Linked DNA regions of Homo sapiens: region 1 is linked to region 2. The links are contacts of gene promoters, found by promoter capture Hi-C in human tissues and cell types (Jung and others, 2019). All regions are on one chromosome and are shown on one strand. The core of a region is centred on a gene start or on the middle of the fragment in contact, and the rest is flanking DNA. Distances in the headings are between cores, read along the strand shown. Region 1 overlaps LNCNEF (lncRNA neighboring enhancer of FOXA2). Region 2 holds the start of CST4 (cystatin S).

Region 1 (2,700 bases), core at 126-2,625, 1.1 Mb after region 2:
CAGCATTTCCTGGCCAAATAACCTGCTTGCACTCAAATCTTTGCATCAGAGTGGATTTCTGGGAGAGCCAAAACTAAGACACAGAACTTTTGAGCCCAGGTTTTGTTTTCATTTTACCTGACACTTTCCTGTCTGTGTGGGTTTGGAGTTTTCTGGAGAAACCATCAGAGGCCTGATCTACCAGAGAGGTAGATCTCTCCTGCCAGAACTGAGCTGTCTCCACTGAGTGTGGAAACTGGAGGGGATGTTCCCACACCCATCCTCTCTATTGGGGTAGTGCTACAGCCTCCTGAGTTGTTGTCTCAGCTGGGCTCCAAAAAGGCAGCCTCTCAATTGGAGTTTAGCATGTGGTGTGTTTACAGTCAGTGGGGTCAATTGGCAGGGGTTGGGGAGACGGACAGAAGGCAGGAGTGAGCAGAGGGAGAATCTGGTCCCCAAAGCAGCCTTGGCCAACCGTATGGTGAGCCCCAGAGCTGGTATAGTTCTCAGAGTTATCTGAGTTTGGCCGAGATGGCCAGACCCTTGTAGACTCTCATCCAACAGGACTGGATTTGGGCCACCCTAGAAAAGACCATGACCTCAAGGGAAGTGCTCTCTGCAGTTGAGTTGACCCCTGAAAGGGCTGACAGCTGAAGGCAGCTTGTGGTCTGTACTCCCAGCAGCAGACCAACAAGCCCAGTGACACCTCAGTGTCTACTGAATAGTGATTCTGGTTTCAATCTCACTTCCCTCCACCTTACTGAGAGAGGAGCTGTTGCAAACCCATCCTGGGCTTTTCTCTCCTGCTCAGAACACTCTATGACTCCCCATTCCCAAGAGAAAAGTCCAAACCCCCTAGCCTGAAAGCTCCTCAGAACAATTCTTTCTTGTCTCTGAGCTGTTCTCGCTGCCCTTCCCAGGAAGCTCCTGCCCTAACACCCGCTGCCCAGTTGCTCCCCTGTCTTTGTGCTGGCATTGCCCCCCAACCCCAACTCCAGGAGCCCTGTGTCACTTTCGGCCTGGCAAACTTTCTTTTCCTCCAGTGTTTGGCTTAAATATCAGCCCCTCAGGCAAGAGGCAACCCTCCCTTCCAGCCAAGGAAGAGTGAATTGCTATTATCTCAGTGGTGCACAGTCTTGCTGCTGCAATAATGAATTTTGTTGTGTTCATACCTATTTCTGGTTTACTCCCAGCTGTGTGAACTCCTGGAGGACATTCATGCTGCCCCATGAGCTGCGATGTGAGCTTATGGGGCATACTAGGGATTTGGTGTTTGTCAAATGAATATTGGCTGAGCTTCTCTGGGAAACAAACAAACGTGCCTTTAAATAAGAGCTAAGGCCAACATTAGGTCACACCCCTGTCACAACTGTGGCTGCAATTAAAAAGGAGAGGGCCATCTGCTGTGGGGCTTTCAGCAAGCTTCTGCACCTGCAAGCTCTTCATCATAGACTGCTCTTGGGTGCCCAGAGCCACCTGGTATACTCTCATAGACAGCTTCACGTGCCTGGGATGTGTGAGACCCCTGCCCCCAGGAGGGCCCTTAAACCAATGATGGGTGCAGCGCTGAGCCTCACTCACACACCTGAGTCCCCTTCAGGACCAGTCTGAAGCTCCTCTCTGCTGGGCATAGCCTGAAATGGCCCACACTGGGCTTCCCTGCCTTCCCCACTCCCTTACAGAACTCTCTGGGAAGCACAGTGACTTGGTAATTCTCATGCACAGGAGTCCTCTCCTCAGGCTCTGCTTCTGGGGAACTCACCTGAGACACCAATAGTAATAGACTGACTAAAGAACTATGGAATATACACACTGCACTGCAGCTGAAAAGAAAAGGTCATTCTATACGTGTGAACCTGGGAAGACCTCAAGTCATACTTTAGTGTGTAAAAGTAAGTTGAAATCTGATAAGTGAGCTAAAGTACTATTTAAGGAAAAGAAAATACTGAGTAATGCTATTGGAAAGTTAAGAAGTGCATACTCCTTCTCAAAACCTACCTCTGTGCACTCCAGCGCTGGGTTCTGCACCCCCTGTCCAGTGACCGACCTGTCTTCTGTGTTTCCCAGCAATGAGCAAACCAGCTGCTGATTATGGGGACCTCTGCTCCCACTCGTCAACTAAGAAAGTCCCTTGGAAAATGGAGCAATATTTTTTATGAACTATGTAACTATGTTGGTGAGCTTAAAGAGTATGACTTTCTTGGTTACCTGCAATGAATCCAAGTGGCATGTTTTTAGCTGATGGGTGAAACTTGACAATGGTTCCACCCCCAGAGCAGGCCCCCAGGCTGGTCTGAAGCAGCTGGTATGGAAGAAGGTGTCAGACTGGCTCTGGCAACTGAGGGTCCTTCTAAAAAGATGGATGGAGGAGGCTTCTGCCAGATTCAGGTCACCTGGAGAACATCACTTGGAAGAAAGATGGCTTTACAGATGGGAGAGGAGGGGAAGTGCAGAGACTACTAAAGGAACAGAAAAGGAAATCAGAAAGTGGAATGGTGAACAGCATGTTACCGGGGAGGGTAAAGGGGAGGTTGCAAAAACATTTGGAACCTGAGGCTTCTAGGACCAAGTGACCTCAGGAAGAGGGCAGAGAAAAAATGAAGGCAGTGTTAGCATGTAGTAAAGAGTTTAGAAAAAAATGGAAATATGGAAAAGTTGGGAGTTATTAACAGCAGTAAAAGTGAAATGCTGACTTTAACCTTCAAACGAAGGGAAAGCCAT
Region 2 (2,700 bases), core at 169-2,668:
GTGCACAGAGGAAAGGAGCCTGAAGCATGGCTGCCTAGGAGAGAAGCAAGAGAGGCCTGTGGGTTCCCACATTCATCCCGTGGCTGCTGCTCCCTCTCCTGACACCCCCACTGCCTCACAGGGGTCTCCGTGCACCTTCCACCGGTCCTCACCCACAGTTACCGTGAGACTCCAGGTGGTTTCCTCCCTTGCTCACATCCCCTCCAGGAGCTTCCTCTTCCTGGAGCAGGCATGTCCCAACCCCACCTCAGGGCCTTTGCACTGGCTGTTCCCCGCTGCCTGGGGCTGCTCAACCTCTCCAGTCTCATAGAGACCACCCTGACCAGGGTCCAGTGGTCTCTCTCTAGCCCCTGTTCTATTTCACTTCCAACAGAGTGAGTATAACTCCCTGATCCTAATTGTTGATCGTAACCTACCATCCTCTACACACACTGTGTAGGAATTTACTGTGCAGTTCCACAGCCACCAGCCACATGTGCCACAGGACACTTGAAATGGGGCCAGTCCAAAATGATTCCTGGGCTAAGTGTAAAAAATACACAGGGAATTTCAAAGATTTACAAAACCAAAAAAAAAAAACACACATAAACGATCTCATTAATAATTGTTCCCGTTAGCTGAAATAATATTGTGGCTATATTAGGTTAAATAAATATTTTAAACATTACTTTCACCCATTTATTCTCATCTTTTAAAATGCATCTACTAGAAATTTTCAAATGCTTGTGGGTTCATGTCACATCTCTGTGGGCAGCAGCTCTGCAATGTCACCTCTATGGCTCATCATCCAGGTTCCGTCTTCAAGCCCTAGACCTCCTGGCATGGGCAGTAACTGGTGATAGGTTTGTTTATTGAATAATGAGTTATGAAAACAGAAGCCAGTGACCTTTTCCAAAAAGGTTAATTCCCTTAAATTTGGCAAAGAAATTCTCCATATTAGGGTGTGGACAGGGTCTTCTGGAACCTTCTGAAATAACCTCTCTGTTCCAGAGATTCAGAGACCGTGACCAAGTGCTCCTGGAAGCCTCTGATATCTGAAGACCCCGGGAGGCCAAGCCCTGTATTTTTCCCCTTTCTGAGCAAACAGGAAGTCACATTGCTTTCACAGTCAAAGGACCAGTGTCACCTCTGTGGAGACCTGGGTGACTCAAGCTTGGGAGCACTGGGGAAGAGAGGCATGGCTCAGGGAGGCTGCAGTGAGGACTGGAGTGGGGAGGAGGGGGAGATGGAGGAGGAGGCCTGGGAGGGGCAGGGGGAACTTAGGCAGGGAGGGAGCTTGTAGTGGTGGGGGAGTGAAAAGAGAGATGGAGAAAGAGGGGATGGGCAGAAAGAGGAGGAGGAGTCAGGGGCAGGGCATGGAGGTGGGTGGGGCTGGGCTGCCAAAGCAGGATAAATGCACACCTGCCTGCTGGTCTGGGCTCCCTGCCTCGGGCTCTCACCCTCCTCTCCTGCAGCTCCAGCTTTGTGCTCTGCCTCTGAGGAGACCATGGCCCGGCCTCTGTGTACCCTGCTACTCCTGATGGCTACCCTGGCTGGGGCTCTGGCCTCGAGCTCCAAGGAGGAGAATAGGATAATCCCAGGTGGCATCTATGATGCAGACCTCAATGATGAGTGGGTACAGCGTGCCCTTCACTTCGCCATCAGCGAGTACAACAAGGCCACCGAAGATGAGTACTACAGACGCCCGCTGCAGGTGCTGCGAGCCAGGGAGCAGGTGGGTGCTGCCTCCACCCGAGGGGTCCTGAGCCCTAGCCTGGTTTGTTGCCGGACCCCCAAGAGCATTCCAAGCAAATCAACACTGACACATTCATGATCTAATGCTCAGATTCATTCAGCTTTCTCTGACTCTCCGCTGATGCCCTTCATGCCTAAGCATGCTCCCGGTCCATGCACTGCAGACAGTTAAAGGAAGTGCTGCAGCTTCCTTTAACCTGCAGCAGCTGCTGTGTCTGTACCATGACCGTGGCATTTCCCAGCGTCCAGCAGGTGTGGATGGAGACTGTGCTGACTCTGGGTGGGCTTGATGCTGCTCAGGATGAGATCCAGGCGGTGAGGCTCATTCTCCTCCCTGAGTCCTCTCCTCAGGGGCCACATGGGAACCTGGCTCCCTGTTCTGCAGAGCCCTTCTTCCTTCCCCAAGTCATGCCCTTGGGCACAGCCCCTTAGGGCTAGTGGCCTTCACCCTCAGGCAGGCTGACCCACCCCTGCAGGCCAGGATGGCTGAGTCCCTGCTGGGGTGGAGCACGCCTGGCCCTGCCTCTACGAGCTGATGCAGAGTTAGACCTCAGCCAGATGAGGACAGCAGTCACCCAGCAGAGCAGAGGAGGGGTTAGGTCCAGAGTGAGCTTCAGCAGGGCAACTGGGCCCAGCTTGACCTGCATCCCATGGCAGAGCAGCAAATAGTGACACAGCCTTTAGAGCTCCTCCACCTTCTAGAAATTCAAAGGAATCCAGACCAGTCCCGTTTCTCCTCCTACAGCTGTCAGCTGGAGCCCTCACCCTGCACAGGAGGTGCACTCCCTGGTGCCATGGTCCCCGCTGGCCTGCATCTCCCTCTTAAGCATGACAGTAACTTGGAGTGAAGCACAGGGCATTGCAGACCATCAGACCTGGAAGCCTATTTTATACATGGGTAAACTGATACTCGAGGGATCTCAGCAGTTCCTCCTGGTTCCAAAGAGTCCCTCATCCCAGGTTTCT

Evidence for each region. Contacts are between HindIII fragments. The study calls those that stand out against the background at their distance.
Region 1: a contact is called between a fragment that was not itself captured here and the fragment with the promoter of CST4 in region 2, in 1 of the 25 tissues and cell types used here (dorsolateral prefrontal cortex).

Annotation. Positions count from the first base shown.
Region 1 is chr20:22,595,472-22,598,171 of GRCh38, reverse strand. All of the region lies in intron 1 of LNCNEF (lncRNA neighboring enhancer of FOXA2), which reads left to right. Among named protein-coding and RNA genes, the nearest start is that of LNCNEF, 11 kb to the left of the region's middle. The HindIII fragment of the contact is 3,832 bases long and covers 1-2,700 here.
Region 2 is chr20:23,687,756-23,690,455 of GRCh38, reverse strand. CST4 (cystatin S) reads left to right here and starts at 1,418. Exons shown (of 3, transcript NM_001899.3): 1 at 1,418-1,714. The coding sequence starts at 1,487. The HindIII fragment of the contact is 7,573 bases long and covers 1-2,700 here.